6 separate regions of the Homo sapiens genome follow, and all the other regions are linked to region 1. Evidence: promoter capture Hi-C in 16 types of primary human blood cells and fetal thymus (Javierre and others, 2016). All regions are on one chromosome and are shown on one strand. The core of a region is centred on a gene start or on the middle of the fragment in contact, and the rest is flanking DNA. Distances in the headings are between cores, read along the strand shown. Region 1 holds the start of CCDC174 (coiled-coil domain containing 174). Region 2 overlaps CAPN7 (calpain 7). Region 3 overlaps HACL1 (2-hydroxyacyl-CoA lyase 1). Region 4 overlaps TMEM43 (transmembrane protein 43). Region 5 overlaps WNT7A (Wnt family member 7A). Region 6 overlaps LOC105376957 (a long non-coding RNA gene).

The links. Contacts are between HindIII fragments. The CHiCAGO score rates a contact against its expected background, and 5 or more counts as called.
Region 2: a fragment that was not itself captured here is called in contact with the fragment with the promoter of CCDC174 in region 1 in 2 of 17 cell types (fetal thymus and naive B cells); the score reaches 5.1 in fetal thymus.
Region 3: a contact is called between a fragment that was not itself captured here and the fragment with the promoter of CCDC174 in region 1, in 1 of 17 cell types (neutrophils). The highest score is 5.4, in neutrophils.
Region 4: a contact is called between a fragment that was not itself captured here and the fragment with the promoter of CCDC174 in region 1, in 7 of 17 cell types (monocytes, total B cells, neutrophils and 4 more). The highest score is 8.1, in monocytes.
Region 5: a fragment that was not itself captured here is called in contact with the fragment with the promoter of CCDC174 in region 1 in 1 of 17 cell types (total CD8 T cells); the score reaches 5.5 in total CD8 T cells.
Region 6: a fragment that was not itself captured here is called in contact with the fragment with the promoter of CCDC174 in region 1 in 1 of 17 cell types (non-activated CD4 T cells); the score reaches 6.8 in non-activated CD4 T cells.

The regions. Positions count from the first base shown.
Region 1 is chr3:14,650,414-14,653,113 of GRCh38, reverse strand. It overlaps CCDC174 (coiled-coil domain containing 174), which reads right to left and starts at 1,352. Exons shown (of 11, transcript NM_016474.5): 1 at 1,236-1,352. The coding sequence starts at 1,277. It overlaps LOC124909347 (a long non-coding RNA gene), which reads left to right and starts at 993. Exons shown (of 2, transcript XR_007095826.1): 1 at 993-1,445; 2 at 1,888-2,700. RefSeq lists enhancers at 1,040-1,109, 1,250-1,649, 1,153-1,811. The HindIII fragment of the contact is 1,793 bases long and covers 1-1,580 here.
Region 2 is chr3:15,212,432-15,215,131 of GRCh38, reverse strand. All of the region lies in intron 2 of CAPN7 (calpain 7), which reads right to left. Among named protein-coding and RNA genes, the nearest start is that of CAPN7, 7.5 kb to the right of the region's middle. The HindIII fragment of the contact is 7,625 bases long and covers 1-2,700 here.
Region 3 is chr3:15,595,511-15,598,210 of GRCh38, reverse strand. HACL1 (2-hydroxyacyl-CoA lyase 1) reads left to right here. Exons shown (of 17, transcript NM_012260.4): 3 at 1,787-1,827. Among named protein-coding and RNA genes, the nearest start is that of HACL1, 4.7 kb to the left of the region's middle. The HindIII fragment of the contact is 4,835 bases long and covers 1-2,700 here.
Region 4 is chr3:14,130,087-14,132,786 of GRCh38, reverse strand. TMEM43 (transmembrane protein 43) reads right to left here. Exons shown (of 12, transcript NM_024334.3): 3 at 1,831-1,965; 4 at 1,113-1,207; 5 at 192-241. Among named protein-coding and RNA genes, the nearest start is that of TMEM43, 6.4 kb to the right of the region's middle. The HindIII fragment of the contact is 420 bases long and covers 1,210-1,629 here.
Region 5 is chr3:13,875,711-13,878,623 of GRCh38, reverse strand. All of the region lies in intron 1 of WNT7A (Wnt family member 7A), which reads left to right. Among named protein-coding and RNA genes, the nearest start is that of WNT7A, 2.9 kb to the left of the region's middle. RefSeq lists an enhancer at 1-80. The HindIII fragment of the contact is 820 bases long and covers 1,028-1,847 here.
Region 6 is chr3:13,899,752-13,902,755 of GRCh38, reverse strand. All of the region lies in intron 2 of LOC105376957 (a long non-coding RNA gene), which reads right to left. Among named protein-coding and RNA genes, the nearest start is that of WNT7A, 21 kb to the right of the region's middle. The HindIII fragment of the contact is 1,445 bases long and covers 809-2,253 here.

The sequences.
Region 1 (2,700 bases), core at 103-2,602:
GTTACCAATAATAACTAGTACTCAAATATTGGGACACCTATATGTTTTCCTTCCTACTCACTTTGTGTCCTAATACTCTGAAGTAAATTCAAGATTAAATCAAAGGTTGGGCAATTTGCTCTGATGATGAAAAGGCAGCAGCTTTGGAGTCAAGTAGAGTGAGTGAGAAAGGGTCTATCACTAAGATTTCTTCCCCCCGCCCCCCGCCCCTTAGACGGAGTTTCGCTCTTGTTGCCCAGGTTGGAGTGCAATTGCGCGATCTCGGCTCACCGCAACCTCCGCCTCCCCGGTTCAAGCGATTCTCCTGCCTCAGCTTCCCGAGTAGCTGGGATTACAGGCGTGCACCACCACGCCCGGCTAATTTTTTTATTTTTAGTAGAGACGGGGTTTCTCCATGTTGGTCAGACTGGTCTCAAACTCCCGACCTCAGGTGATCTGCCCGCCTCAGCCTCCCAAAGTGTTGGGATTACAGGCGTGAGTCACCGCGCCCGGCTATCACTAAGATTTCTGTCTGTAAGCTGGGGAAAGCTACTTCATCTTTCCAGGCCTCAATTTCATCATCCATAAAACGGAGATATTAATAGCACCTACCTCCTAAAGCCATTGGGAGGATTCAATGAGATAGTGCATATAAAGTGCTGGCACAAAATGTGTACTTAGAACAAGTTTTCTTTCTAGAGTAGCTGATGTAATAAATCTGCTTACATCCTTTCAGACCTCACAACTCCCTATGCCTGCATTAACAACTGTTTAGTTCCAGGGAGGGCACGCTGGACACTTTCGGGTCCTGCGAAATATGTCACACTCTAAAGTTCTGGGAGGACTTTGTGGGTCCCTGGATGGAGGAGAAACCAGGAAGAGGATATGTCTGCATAGCAAAAAGAAGCTAGGGTTCCTCCTGACTGTAAGGGAGAAGGCTGACGAGGTGCAGGTCCTTGTGGGCAGGGCAGAGGTGAGGCACGGAGTTTCCTAACCCACGGGACACCAGGTTCAGATCCGTGTCCGAGGGTTCTGGCCCGGGCGCATGTCAGAGGAGAGTAGCCCAATTCAGGGTCCTGTAAGAAAACTGAACCGGATCCCCGCCGGAGAAGAAAATCCAGTTCGGGGGTTCCTGTTTGAGGGGAGAGGTCAGGTCTCTGGGTCCCCGAGTGAAGAAACAAGCTAGGTCGACATTCTTGTCTGATGGAGACACGGTGAACCCGGAGCCCGTGGAGTTACCTCATACCCTCACTCACCGAGGAGGCCGTGACGTCCAAAGGCTTTTTCCTACGGTCCATGGTCGTGGCAGAGGGTCCCGGTCCAGGAAGGACCCTTTCTACCCGACACAGGCCTCGTAAGCCTACCTCCGTCGCAACCGGAAGTGTCTTCGACAGCGACACTGAGTTTGCGTGAGTTTGCGACGCGAGTTTGTCAGCTCAGCGCCATCTTGAGAAGGTCAGAGTGTGGTGCGTATTACGTTCACCATCATTTTGGAAAGGTCATAGAGTGCGGAGGTTGACGCTAACTGCTAAGGTCATCTTGAGGGCGGAAGGTAACAAGGATTGGTGTGGGCGCCATCTTGAGAAGGGCGGAATAAAGCTTTTGATTGCGATGGACGCCATATTGGGTGGGGCGGATGTGGGGTTGGCGACAAAGATAACGCCATCTTGGGGAAGGCTGACGCTTAAGTAAGTGAACTCGAGCGTCTCGGGAAAGGTGGATTGGGAGGACCGGAAGAATCTTAACTGCAATTCCAGGACCTGCTGCCTGGCACTTTTCACACGTTAAATAGTTGGTTCTTAAAAGAGCGTACGAGATAAGGATTATTATATTAATCTTAGTAGAAATAACAAGAATAATAGCTAACATTAATGTAGTGCTTATTATGGGCCACTTTACATATTTCAGCTCTTAAGAACGTGAACTCCTGGGCCGGGCGCGGTGGCTCACGCCTGTAATCCCAGCACTTTGGGAGGCTGAGGCGGGTGGATCAGGAGGTCAGGAGTTTGAGACCAGCCTGACCAACATGGTGAAACCCCGTCTCTGCTGAAAATACAAGAAAAAAAAAAAATTAGCCGAGCGTGGTGGTGCGCGCCTGTATTCCCAGCTACTCAGGAGGCTGAGGCAGAAGAATCGCTTGAACCTGGGAGGTGGAGGTTGCAGTGAGTCGAGATCAAAAAAAAAAAAAACAAAGAACACGTGAACTCGAAAGCTGACTTTCTGGGTTGGAATCGCTCTTCACGGCTTACTGCTTGTGTGACCTTGGGCAAGTTACTTAACTTCCGTGTGCCTCAGTTTCCAAAGGGGGATATAATTTTATTTACCTAATGGGTCTTAGTGAGGATTAGATGAGTTAAATGAGCTAGTCTTGATAAAAATGTTAATGATTATGGTAGACAGACCAATCACCCTCACCCCGACTCCCAGATGTCTACCTTCTAATCCCCAGAATCTGGGTATATGGTGACCTTTATATAGCAAAAGAGAATTGGCAGAGATGATGAAATTAAAGCGATTGAGATGGGGAGCTAGCCTGGATTGTGCAGGTGGGTCCCCTATCATCAAAACCATCCTTATAAGGGGTAGACAGGATGGCCAGAGTCAGACAGAGATCAGAGATGCTTTGAAGAGGGAGAGTGGGACCACATGCCTAGGTATGCAGGAGGCCGCTAGAAAAAGCAAAGAAATGAGCCCTCCTCCAGAGTCTCCAGAAGGAATGCA
Region 2 (2,700 bases), core at 195-2,694, 560 kb before region 1:
TTTCAAAACTTTAGCCTTCTTAAATGCCTCTCTGAAGTATATACTAATTCCATTGATGAAAAAGATACCAAAGCTCAAAAATGTTGAAATATCTAGCCCAGTGTTTCTCAGCCTGGCATTATTGACATTTTGGGCTGGATAATTCTTTGTTGTGGGAGACTTTTTAGCAACAGCCTTGGCCTCTACCCAGCTAAATCCCAGAAGCATATTCCTTGCCACCCAGCAGCGTGAAAACCAAAAACTTCTCCAGAAATTGCCAAATGTCCCCTGGGGGGCAAATTGCTTTCTACTGAGACCCATTGATCTAGTCTAAGATTTCACAGCTACAAGTGAAAGGGTAGAGACTCAACAGGGATCTTTTAATTCCAAGTCTTGAACTCTGTACTACGACGGTTAATTTTACTTTTTATTTTTCGAGACAGGGTCTTACTCTGTCATCCAGGCTGAGGGCAGTGGTGTAATCACGGGTCAGTGCAGCCTCAACCTCCTGGGCTCAAGCAATCTTCCTGCCTCAACCTCTGAGGAGCTGGGACTACAGGCACACACCACCATGCCCAGCAAATTTTTTCAATTTTTGTAGGGGTGAAGTCTATGTTGCCTAGGCTGATCTTGAACTCCTAGATTCAAGGGATTCTCCTGCCTCAGCTTCCCAAAGTGCTGGGATTACAGGCATGAGCCACTGTGCCGGCCTATACTGGTTAATTTTAAATTATGTTACCTTTCCCCACCCCAAAATCAACTCTCTCTCAGGATTCTCTTAACTGTCAGCAGACTATCTTGTTTTAAAACTTAGGGTTCCTAACAGGATTTTTATTTGAAAAAGGACTTTTCTGCTTAAAATAATAAATAAGAAAATCCTTTAAATTGTCTAGAGATTATACTCCATTTCTTCAACAAAAGCAGAAAGAAGTTGGTAAAACAAGCTATGTTATGCTTTAAAAATCCTTTTTAAGGCCAGGCATGGTGGCTCACGCCTGTAATCCCAGCACTTTGGGAGGCCGAGGCGGGTGGATCACGAGGTCAGGAGATCGAGACCATCCTGGCTAACATGGTGAAATCCTGTCTCTACTAAAAATATAAAAAATCAGCTGGGTGTGGTGGCAGGCGCCTGTAGTCTCAGCTACTGGGGAGGCTGACGCAGGAGAATGGCGTGAACCCCGGAGGCGGAACTTGGCAGTGAGCTGAGATCGCGCCACTGCACTCCAGCCTGGAAGACAGAACGAGACTCCACCTCAAAAAAAAAAAAAAAAAATCCTTTTTGAACTCTATTTCACTGGCAAGTCTTTATTCTTCAAGAGATTGGGGTGTCTCATTTGATGCTTGAATATCACATATATATCAATGTTTAGAATTTATTTCCCAAAAATCACATGTAAGTTTTTAGGCTTAGCTGTATTTAATATAAAGTAAGAATAATTTTTAAAATTCCTTAGAAAAAAATGATTCATATTTATTTTTTCCAATTGTCACAAGGATTTCAAGGGTTTAAAGAGCAATCTTACTGGAATCAAGACCCTAGGGCATAAATGTGCTTGACTGTGTGTACATATGGAAAAGAAAGATGGAAATATACCTTAGGCTGCCAGAGATTCTACTCCTGGAATAATATCACCATATAATCTCTCCTTTCTAGAGCATTCTGCTTTAACATTTAGTCTAGCATGCTTCAGAAAGGGGTTTCCATGATAGTGCAATGTTGACACTGTTCTCTCTCCACACCTGATGAAGTCCTCCTGAGGACATGGACTGTCACTCATCTATTACCCTGTACTTACCATAGAGCCCAAACATGTATTCAATACATAGTTATTGAAATGAAGAAAACTATCTATGAAAAAACAAGGAGATCATGGAAGTAAACATGAAAGACTACCTTCCCTACTTCAAAGATAATTTTATTTGAAAACACTGGTTATGAAACAAAGTTCCTAATATTGGGCAGTTAAATTTAAGAACTTCATTTACTTGGCTGGGAAAAGAAAGTTCCTTTGAATTTTATATGATATTTTGAATACATGAATCAATACTTTGTATCAAGTGAGGTTCCAATAACACAGGCAGTACACTTTTCAATACATGCAATTTCTGGGCACTGTATTAAAAGTAAACCGCCTTGTTTTTAAGGGAACTGTCATAACAAGGAATCCAATGATTAAATCTACTTTATCCCAACGATGTTCTTGTAATTGCTCGTATCTACTCAAAATGAGTGGTAGAAAGTTACACAAAGTCCATGAGAATAAATATTCTTCTGCTTGGCGCTTTATCATGCAGCAACAGAAAAAGAGGGTTAAAAAGAATCCCTACAGAAATCAATGTATTTGTAAATACAATGTCAACATCAGTTACCTCTAACAAAACTGTGACCATTAAGACTATATATTTCTATTATTGTACCTGTTGTGCTGTTTACAAAAATAAATACAAGTAGTTCCAAGTCTCTGTTTACATGTCACTTTCCCAAGATATGGTTTTAAAGAGTTTAGCAAAGGTCTGAAAGTAGAAGACACCGAAAGAGAAGACACTGTGAACCTACTGCTGAAGTCTGTAAACACTGAAGAGGAACAGTCACTTAATTTTATAAGGAAGAGACGTGACAGATATTTTAAAAGCAGACTTTAACTGAATCCTAATCCTAACTTTGCCAATGATAAATTGTTTGAACATAGGTAATTCACCATCTCTGCACTCTGGGAAATT
Region 3 (2,700 bases), core at 91-2,590, 950 kb before region 1:
CGTTTCTAAAAATATAAAATTAGCCAGGCGTGGTGGTGCATGTTTGTAATGCCAGCTGCTCGGGAAGCTGAGGCAGGAGAATTGCTTGAACCTGGGAGGTGGAGGTTGCCGTGAGCCAATATTGCATCATTGCACTCCAGCCTGGGCAACAAGAGCGAAACTCCGAAACTCTGTCTCAAAAAAAAAAAACAAAACAAAACAAAATAAAACAAAACAAAACAGTTACCTCTCAACTTTTGACATTTCCTACCAGAGGAATATACTTTTTGTTACGTGTTGTTGTATATTTTGCATTGCCTAGCAACATTTCTTACCTAGCTATCATAAGTGGGCAATTCTTTTGGGTGTCTAAATAAAGTGTTCTTATTGCAGCAGGTATTTACATGCCTGCATTTCTTAGGAGTTGTCTTATTCTCCTAATGTGAATTTGGCCTTATGTGCAAAAGGAAAGAGAGATGGGGCCAGTAGAGAATAGCGACACAGGAAAAGAGCAGAGTCTTTGTGCAGGTTCTCAGTGGGTGTATGATAGTAGAGCCAGTTAAGATTATGATCCATAAACATTTCCTTTTTTTTTTTTTCCACATTTATGTCGTTAATGTGGAGTTCTTTAAGACAGTATACTACTTCATTTAAAGCTGAATGAAGGCTAGGAAATACGCAATTCATTATTATTTCTAAAGAAATGAGAAGAAATAATACTGGGAAAAAAATGATGTCCCAGACTAAGAAGAATTTGAGAGAGCACTCAGCATTTTCCCAGGTTATCTTGTGTGCATTTAATTTAGTGCCCCCTCTCTTCCTGATTATGAGCTGAAGTAGAGTTACAAGGTAAAAACTATCCATATGCAGGCCATAAAGGAAATCTCAATAAATCGCCAAGGATTGAAAGCGTGCAGTATATGTCACCTGACCATGTGGAAGTAAAGTGGAACTCAATAAGAGATCACTAAAAAGAATCTCAGACCTTTGGAAATTAAGCAACATACTTTTTGGTATTTTGTAAATATTTGAAAAGATTAACAAAATGAATAAACTTCAAGATAGACTGATTGAGAATAAAAGAGAAAACAGATTACCAATGTCAGGAATGAAAAAGGAGGTATCACTACAGATCCTAATTAACCAATGGGTTGAAGAAGAAATCACAATGGAAAGTAGAAAATATTTTGAATAGAATGATAATGAAAAGATGCAACTCAAACTTGTAACCTATAACTAAAGCAGTTCTTGGAATCATTTTAAACAAATTATTAGTAAAGAAAATTAAAAACCAGTGTTCTAAATTTGTATTTTAAGAAGCTAGAAAAAGAAAAGCAAATCAAATTCAAAATGACTGAAATAATAAATACAAGAACAGAAATCAATGAAATAGAAAACAAACAATAGAGAAAAACCAACAAAAATTTTCGAAGAACTAAAAAAATTTGTTCTTTGAAAAGATGGATAAATTTGATAAACCCCTCATGAGACTGATGAAGAATAAAAGAAAGAAAACAAATTACCAATATTGTTAATAAAAGAGGACATTCCTATTGATCCTGCAGATATTTAAGCAATTGTAAGAGGATGTTTTGAATAACATACATATGAACAAATTTCCTGAAAAACTAAAATTTAGATAACCATTATTTGAAATTTATGTGTAGAACATTTATTACTAAGGTTGGAAATATTTTAATTCTGCCTTTACCACTATGTTCTTGTCTATTATTTAATAGTAAGTTGCTGTCATAAATGTACTATAAGGATCCCAATATGCTCAAGTCCCAGTGTTGTTTTCTCGTAGGCTTGTTATGCTGCCTCCGCGATTGGATATCTGACAAGCAGGTAAACTAAAATTTGTTTCACTTCAATTACTTTAATATTTTGGGGTAGAACTATTACGTCTTTCAGCTGAAGGATGAGTTCATTTGGAAAGATTATAGAAAAATATATTAAATAACAAAGGATAAAAAACATTTAAAACTCTCTGAGGACCACATCAAAAGAATAATGATACCAGAAGTGTTTCAGAGTGGAACACATTGCCATTTTGTAGAGTGAATCACTGGTGATCAGATAGTGAGTTGATGTATGATACCTTGTCTTGGATCTCACAACTACCCCAGCACACTTAATACAAAAATGCTTGGTTCAAAATGTGACTGTTGAGAGCTGTTCCACACGTTCTGATTTTTTAGTGTGTATCCATGTTACCTAACTACCACCCCCTTTTTATTATTAAAAATTAATACATTTTTAAAATGTCCATTTTGGAAAACTTGGAAAATATAGAAAGCACAAAGAAGAAAATGAAAATCGACTAGGCACGGTGGGTCACGCCTGTAATCCCAGCACTTTGGGAGGCTGAGGCAGGTGGATCACCTGAGGTCAGGAGTTTGAGACCAGCTTGGCCAACATGGTGAAACACCATCTCTACTAAAAATACAAAAATCACCCTGGTGTGGTGGCATGCGTCTGTAATCCCAGCTACTCGGGAGGCTGAGGCAGGAGAATCGGCTTGAACCCAGGAGGCGGAGGTTGCAGTGAGCTGAGATTGCGCCACTGCACTCCAGCCTGGGTGATAGAGTGAGACTCCGTCTCAAAAAAAAAAAAAAAAAAAAAAAGGAAAAAAGATGAAGAAAATCACCTATGATCTCAGAACTGTTAAGAATTGGTCATTTTCTTCCAGTTTTTTCCCTTATCTATGTATTTTTTAAG
Region 4 (2,700 bases), core at 170-2,669, 520 kb after region 1:
CTCACAGCCAAAGGGGTGGGTCAGGGAGCCTCAATGGATGGGTGGGAAAGCAGGGCTCTGAAGACTTGCACCCAGGGATCCTGATGCCTGGTGCTGAATCCTTCCCATGGCCCCACCAACAGCCCTGCTGTCCAGCCACCACTGTGGGCCCCCACCATGGGCAGAGACCACGTAAGGGGCCCAGCACTCACTGTAGGAATACCTCGTCTCCTTCTTCACCTGCCCATCCTCGGTGTACTCCCTGCAGGGAAAGCAAAGCAGCCACGGGGGTTAGCCTCGTCGCCCCAGGCAGTCTAATCTCTAAGCATCTGAGCAGGAAGCAACCTCAGGGCTACCAGATCAGACTCCCCAGATACGGCAGATGCCTTCTCTACACCAGCCCCAAGACAGGGCACTCACTCCTGACAGACAGCCAGCTCCTGCCCTCCAAGGCGCTACCTGGAGGAAAGCGCTCTCCCATCCTGAGCTGAAATCTGCCCGCACTGGCCTTACACCAAGGGGCCCAGCCCTGCCCTTTGGGCTCAGAGATCTGGCTGCATCCTCTGCTCCAGGACAGCCCTGCGGGGGGCCTCTTGAAGCTGCCCTTCTCCTGCTCCTCCCACCACCTCCCCACCTGTCGGTCACAGTCCATATGATTCAGGTGGGGCTGAACCCACCCCCAGCTCCAGGTGACCCCAGCCCTGATCAATGAGAACCTGCCCTGGGACTCCTGTCAGAAACGATAAGCTGTAAGTAGAGCAAAGATGGGACCAACACAGCTGATGGGAAGGCTGAACACAGAGAGATGCAGTGGGGTCTCGGGGTTGACATGCTGATCCTAATGACAGTGTTTCAGGCCTGCTCCAAGTCATGCTTCAAGCTTGTGCATCTCTGGAACTTCCCAGATGTGGGAGCAACTCAATCCCCCTTTCCTCCTGGAGCCACTCTTCACTGGATTTTTGCCACTTCCAAATCACTGGCTATTAATTTGGGGATCATTTCACACTTTTCTGATAGGAAGATGTTATACTTGAGTTTCAAAGGTATCAAAATGAAAGACATCTGCATGTTATCCTGACACCTACACTTCACTCCTCCTTTACCCCAACAGAGTTTTCACCCCAACAGCTCACCTGGACTCCTCAGTTTCTACCCATTGGTACATCTCCACGTGCCTCCGCAGTTTCACAGCCGGAAGATGGACCCCATAGTTTGGATCAGACAAAAGCTTCAAACAGAATCAAAGAAACCAAAAAAATAAAGGATAACATTCACGTCAGCCCAGAAAGCCTGGCTCAGGGGAAGCTGGACTGGAAGAGGAAGAAATAGAGAAGGGGACAAGGGTGGAGAGCCCTACACTGCTTTGCAGGGGAGAATCGAGGACACTCCCTGTCCCAGGTTCTTTACACACAGTGCCTGTGACTGTGACCCTCACAGTACAGGCCTGGGCTGCATGGCCCAATGGCATGGTGCCAACAGCGTACAGGGTGTTCAAATAACAGGAAAGCTCTGGTGCCCAGGGTAGTTTTGTGGCCTTGCACTGGACACACATGGTCATCAGAGTCATGAGAGCACCTCCCTGAGTGCCAGCCACTGTACCAAGGCGTTAGTTACCTAATCTCACCAAATCCTCAAGGCTGGCCACAAGCTTGTAACCATTACCGTCCCCATTTTATACACGAAGACACTGAGACTCAGGATAGACAAGTCCACACAGCTGCTGAGTGGTAAAGTCGGGAATCACTCCCATGTGTGACCATCTCCAAGGCCCATGCTTTCAAATCCTCAGCCAGACAACATCCAGGATGAGCCCCGAGCCACTGGCAGGTCAGCATCCCCTGCCAAACCTACCTTGGATGTCCGTAAGGCGCCAATGATGTGCACCAGCCTTCCTTCATTCTCCGGAGCCACACTGTGGATGCTGTCGGGAGACACCACAAGCGAGAGCCCCTCAGCCAATGAGGTTGCCGTCTTCAATGCGCGGCCCTGGGAGCAAAGGGGAGTGGGGATTTCAACAGCTCAGGGGTGGCTCAGCATGACTGTGCTTGTTGCAAAGTATTAGGGTAGGATGGGGCCTCCGGGAGCGCTGAGACCCATCTCCCCACCGTACAGTTGGAAAACTGAGGTCTAGCAAGTGGAGAGTAAGGACTGGAACCCAGATTCCTGCTTTCCCAGGGAGACTTCTTCCTACTGCCCCATTGGTTCCCACTAGCCCCCACCAATCTTAGCACTGCCCCAGTGGTGGGAACAGCTGATGTTTCTGCCTGCCTGTCCCTTTCTCCCCATTTTTCTCTGCCTTCTTTTTTTTAATTTTATTTTTATGTTTAAGTTTTTTGTAGAAATGGGGTCTTGCTATGTTGCCCAGGCTGCTTTCGAACTTCTGACCTCAAGCGATCCTGCCTCCTTGGCCTCCCAAAGTGCTGGGGTTACAGGCTTGAGCCTCCATGCCTGGCTCTCCTCTCTCCTACTCAGCCCATGTGGTTTACCTGAGTCTATCTGAACCCTGGTCAGATTATGGGACCCAGACCTTGCCAGTCAGAACATGTGAGTGCGCCCTGGACACGGAGACTGATTCAGAGGACGGAGAGCCAAGCCAGGACACTGAGAGATGGCCCTGTAACTGCTGCTAAATTGATTTAGAAATATACTGTTGCATCATGAGGCCCTATTAAAAAAAAGGAGAAAAAGAAAGAGAGAGGGAGAGAAAGAAAGAAACAAACA
Region 5 (2,913 bases), core at 188-2,687, 770 kb after region 1:
CTTCCCCAGTCCACGTCTCTGGAGCGGGGATTTCGCAAGTTGTCCGGCCGCGGCCGCTAGCAGGTGCGTGCAGAGCCGACCAGGGGCCGCCAGCCCGACCAGCGGCGGAGAGGCGGCTGCGGGGCTCGCGCCAGTACCGCCAGCCTGCCGGTGTGTTTTAAGTGTTATTGATTCGCCCGCGTCTGGGTGGCTTTCCTTTTTTTCCCCTGCTTTAATCTTCATCTTGGCCCGCGCCCCGCCGCCCCGCGCACATTCAGCATCCAGGAAGCCAGTAGGGCCGATTGGCTCGAGCCGATTGACTCGGGCCGCGTGCGGCTTTATCTCCTTTTTAATTAGAAACGGGGAGGAGGGACACGGGTGGCGGGGGAGACAGAAAGGGAAAACAGCAGAAAATAACCTCCCCTGGCCGCCCCGCCCGCCCGCGGGCCGCCCTCCCGCCGGCGCCGCGGCCTCCCCGGATTGGCCCTGCGGGGGCCCAGCTGCCCGGCAGGGAGGGAGGGAGGGAGTCCTGCAGGGCGCTGGCTTTCCGCCCCAAGCTGCCCTCTGGGGTAGGGAGAGGTCCAGGTCGGAGAGGTGGGAGTTGCAGGTGACTTCGGGCCAGGCCCTGCTGCTCCCTGCGCCTCGGGCTACTCATCTGTATAGTGGACATGAGGGGTGAAGTCTCAACGTCCCTAAAAGGTTTTTCCATTTCCCCAGACGTGACGGCTCTACCCGCTTCTGGCTGATGGTGGGGCATCTGCGGTATTCTTATTTTGCTCGGATAGTTCAGGTGACTCCGCACTAGCCTATTGCAACAATCAGATCCGATAACGATAATGATAATTACAACACCACCACCACATTTATGGGGCACTCACTATGTGCCTGGCACCTTCTAAGCACTTTCCATGTTCTAGCACATTTGATTTTCACAGCAGCCAATGAGGTGGGGACTAGTTATCAATACCCTAATTTAGCCATGGAGAAACTGAAGTGCAGAGGGAAGGAAACTTGCCTAAGATCGCACAACTAATAAGTGAAGGAAGCTTGGATGAGAACCTAGGCCAGACCCTTAGGGGCTAGTCTATTGCACCTATGAATTTTTGGCCCCAGTATGCCAACCTATCCACTCTCAGCTGGTGTAGAAATTTCCTGGTGGCCAGCTAGGTGCTCAGAGGGTCCTCCTGACAAATGATGCCAAAACGTCTCCACTTAATCTTCTCATGCTGCTTCTTCCTCAGACATTCCCAGCATTCTAGTGTGTGTTAGACTCGGGTTTAGCGCTGAGATGCCAGTGCAAAGCCAGGCTGTCCCACCTCCAACACCTGCTAGCTGAGAACCTTCCTCCAGGTCCCAACCTCTGTGAGCCTCAATTTTCAAATATGTGAAACGGATGTGATGATTCTTGCCCCACAGGGCTGTGTGGAAAGGTCACATGAGCTGCTGTTTGTGGCAGCACCCACCATACTGCCTTGGCACATAGTAGGGACACTGCCCAAGTTTACTGATGCATTTGATGCATATTTGGGGGGCACCTGCCATGTAATAGGTACTCACCCGGAGCCACATCTTTGAAGTGCCACAATCCATTTATTCAGCAGTCATTTAGTGAACCAGCAGACAGCCTCCCTGCCCTCAGGGAGCTCATCCTCTCAGGAGGAAGACAAGTGATCAAGTGAGCATGCAAATTAAAAACACAGACATGAAAACATTTCAGTAGACCATGAGTAATCAAGAATATCCAGTAAACAAAACAGAGATTGTGATGGGAATTTATTAGGGGTAGGGAGGGGAGGGAGGAGCCCTTAGCTGGGCTGGTCAGGGAGGTGACCCTTGAGGTCATGTGAATAATGGCAAGAAGCCAAGCTTGTGAAGATCAGGGGTGAGAGCGCTTCCAGGGAGAGGAGGAGCAAGGACAGAGTGCCTACTGCAGGGAGAAGGCTGGCACGTGGCAGGAGCCTAGGGAAACGGCAGGAGTGATCAGTTGTGCGCTTGGAGGGCATGGGTCCATGTCACCTCCTTGAGTTATTGGTACAGGAGAACCTCACTCTAACAAATTGCAACTCCAGAAAACTGCCCACAGCTGAGCCCCAGGACGAGGCACTTGTCCAGTGGCTCTACCTGCAGCCCTACCACTGCCACCAAGCCAAGCCACCACCAACCCTAACCTGCCTAGTCCCTCTGCTCCTGCTCTGGCACCCCACAGGTCTTTCCTACATGGAGTGGGGACCACCAGGTCATGTCAGTGTCCTGCTTACACCCTTCAGTGCTTCCTGGTGCTGCCTGATGCACCTGAGAAAATGCCAGCCCTCAGCCATCTCCTCTTCCCAGGATCTCCCTGCATCTCAAGCCCTGGCTTTGTAGCAGTTTCCATGGGTTCTTTCTATTCCTTGAAGACCCCGAACTTGTCTCCTAGAACTTTGCATTTTCTGTTCCCTCTGCATAGAATACCCTTCTCCAGATCTTCCCACAGATGCCTCCTGGCAATTCAGATCTCTGTTCTGTTCTAATGTCAACTCCTCAAGGAAGTCCTCTTGATCACCTCAGCTAAAGTGGCCCTCACTTTCCTCACCACCCCCACACCCCAGTTGCCATCCCAGCATCTTCCTTTACTTTCTTCATAGTACATATCACTGTCGAGATGGCCTGTTTTATTCATTTGTGACATCTGTGTTGTCACCCTCCCTAGTTCCTTGAGGGCAGGGCATTGCCTGTCAGGTGCACAGCTGTCTCCTAGCATGGTACGTGGCACATGATGGGTATCCGATATATATCAGTGAATAGTTGAGGAAGATAGGAATTCTCCTCATAATAGTCGCACACATCCTCTAGGCCAGTCATGCCCGGAGTGGGATACATGTACTCCATTGACAGCAGGAAGAAAATGCCAGGACTTCTACTTACAATTACTTTTTAAGTTTTTTTTCCAACAAT
Region 6 (3,004 bases), core at 282-2,781, 750 kb after region 1:
TGTGCATTCTCTGTGGTTAATGAGGTATCTAAATAATTTAATACATTGACTATATTAATGAGATTTAGGAGTATTAGGAGTTTTTACATTAGTAAAAGAGAAGTTATTTTGAAAAGTATTTCCACACTAATTACAGTTTATACTGTATTCTCTCCAGTATGAATTCTCCAATACTAATGAAGGATGATTTATAGTTAAAGAACTGCCCACATTGCTAGCATTCAAAGGACTTCTTACTATTGTTGTACAGAAACTGAGCTACAGGTACAAGGTTTCTCACATTTACTACATTCACGGGGTTTGTAGTGGGTTGAATAGTGTCCACCTCCCCCTCAAAATTCACATCCACCCAGAATCTTGGAATGTAACTTTATTTGGAATGGGGTCTTTTCAGATGTAATTATTGAAGATAAAGTCATACTGAAATTAGGATATGCCCTAAATATGATGACTGGTTTCCTTACAAGAAGAGTAGAAGAGACAGAGACACACACAGAGAAGAAAGCCATGTGAGGATGGAGACTGGAGTGATATAGCTACACATCAAGCAATGCCAAAAATTACTGGCAACCAGCAGAATCTAGGAGAAGGGCATAGAACAGTTTCTTCTTGAGAGCCTCCAGAAGGAACAAACTTCCCAAATCCCTTTATTTCTGACTTCTGGCCTCTTAAGCTGTGAGAGAATAAACTCCTGTTGTTTTAAGCCACCCAATTTGTGCTTATCTGTTTTGGCAGCTATAGGAATCTAATTTCCCCTCCTGTGTGATTCTTCTGATATACAATAAAGTATTATCCACTGAAGAAAGCTTTGCCATATTTGTTATATTGATTAGGATTATCATTTCTACAAATTTTGGGTGGCTAAAGAATTTTAACCCCTGGTACTGTGGCTTTTTACTTTAATTAAAATCATAAAAATTCTCTCCAGTATGACTTCTCTATGCACAATGAAGTGGAATTTTCTAGTGAAGGCCTTCCTACATTTATTACACTTATAGGAACCTCTACACTATGAACCTCTTGATGTCTTATGAAGTTTGTTATAACTGAAAGTTGTCCCACATTATTATATTAAAAAAAGTTTTACACATGCATAGGTTGAACTAATAATTTCCCACATTTTTATGTTTATAATATTTCTTGCTAGCACAGTTTCTCTCAACTGTATCAAAATTACACTTCAAATGCCCTCAAATAACTATGAGATGCTGCTTTCCTTGGAGGAATTAGCTTTGAGCTCAGATAAAAACTGGCTTCCAATTTTACTATATTCATTTCCTTTCTCCACAGTCAATGCTTTATTGAAGATGAATGTACCTAGCTTCAAGTCTCCCTCCCCTCCTTTTGAAATAAATTTTACAAAGAGCTTTTCCTTGTGAATATTCTTTCAGTCAACTTAGGAATACCCTTGTTCAGAATTGTCCTATTGTATGTTTCATGTCTCACCTTCTAGAACTATTGAGAGCTCAATTGCAAATGACCTCTTCCCTAGCTGAAAAAGTACTCATTGTAAGACAACTGGTGCAGAAATAAACAATTCAGGGAAGATAACATTTGAGTAATTTCAAACATGATCTTGCATTATGCAGAAAGCCAATAAAATAATCAGAAGGAAGATGAAAAGATGAAAGAGAAAGTATATAGAACAGAGAGTAAGCACAAAGAGGACTGGACAGGAAACGGAGTTACTAGAAATAGCAGCTAGAGTGATGTCAGAAGGGAATGGCAGAATAAGGACCTCCAAAACTCCCCTACTCCATAAAAGCAATGGGAACACAGGCAATAATTATTGAAATCAAGTCTTTCAGAACTCTAGAAATTAACCAAAATCTTATAATAATCCAGAGAGCATTTATTCAAGAAAATGGCTGAATATTGGTAAGGACAGCATTTCTTTTGGCATATAAATTGCTCTATTCTTACTCACTTTATCCCAACTGCACAGCACCTTTGAAAATCAAAAATCAGTAATCATAGTTAAAATCTGCAACCTAGCAGCTACTGGAGAGGAAGAACAGGTTGAAACATCCAACACCCCAATCCTAGACAACTGTCCTTATTTAATCTGGAGCTTCCTAAGAAAGCGCCACTCAAAGGTCTTCTCTTTATTTTACCTCACTCAGATTTCCTGCAGTGTGAAAGGCCTTTTCTCCACAGGCATTCATCAAAAATCATCAATGGCAAGTGTTTAATACTGCAGCTGCCTGAGGTAGTGATAAGAGTGGATCAAATAACAAGCTAACCAAAAAAGCTTTTAAAAAGTAAAATCCAGGGAACAAAGTGTCCATGGGGGGCTTTAAGCATGCATAGGAATAGCATGCATACTCAGGACTATAAGTATGCTAGGAAAGACATGACAAGGCCCTAGGTTCTCACCTGAGGCTGTCCAGGAAGCTCTGCACGAGCCAGAAGTAAAATCTAAGACAGGGTCATGAACTGCCTCTCCAAGTGTTGAGAGCATGCCTAGACACACACACACACACACACACACACACACACACACACAGTGCCCCTCAGCAGTCCAAGAGTCTTAGTTCTATACTTTAAAAAAATATATCTCCAATTCATAGCTGATTTGCATGGTAGCAAAACAGAGAGTTCAGTGGCCACAAATGAGAACAATATACAGACTTTCCTGAATGAGCCTGATCCCATATCTCAGAGCCCACCAGTGTTAATACCCTGGGTGGGTATCCTTTCATCTCATTCTCTTTAGTCATAAAAAGTATCTATCTATGGTTGTTGCCTCCATTTCCTCAACTCCTATTCTCCCAGAATGCATCCAACTGGCTTCTGTTTCCTGCATCTGAAGGAAAGGACACTGGTTCCACTGAGAGCCTCAAGTAACATTCATGGTGCCAAAACTAATGGTTCCCTCTTAGTCACTCTCCTGCTCACTTTCTTAGTGGTCTTCAATGCAAGGTGGCCCCACCTTTCTTCTTGAAATCATCTCTTCTCAGATATCCATGTCATTACATTTACCTCGTTTTCCATCTACCTAACT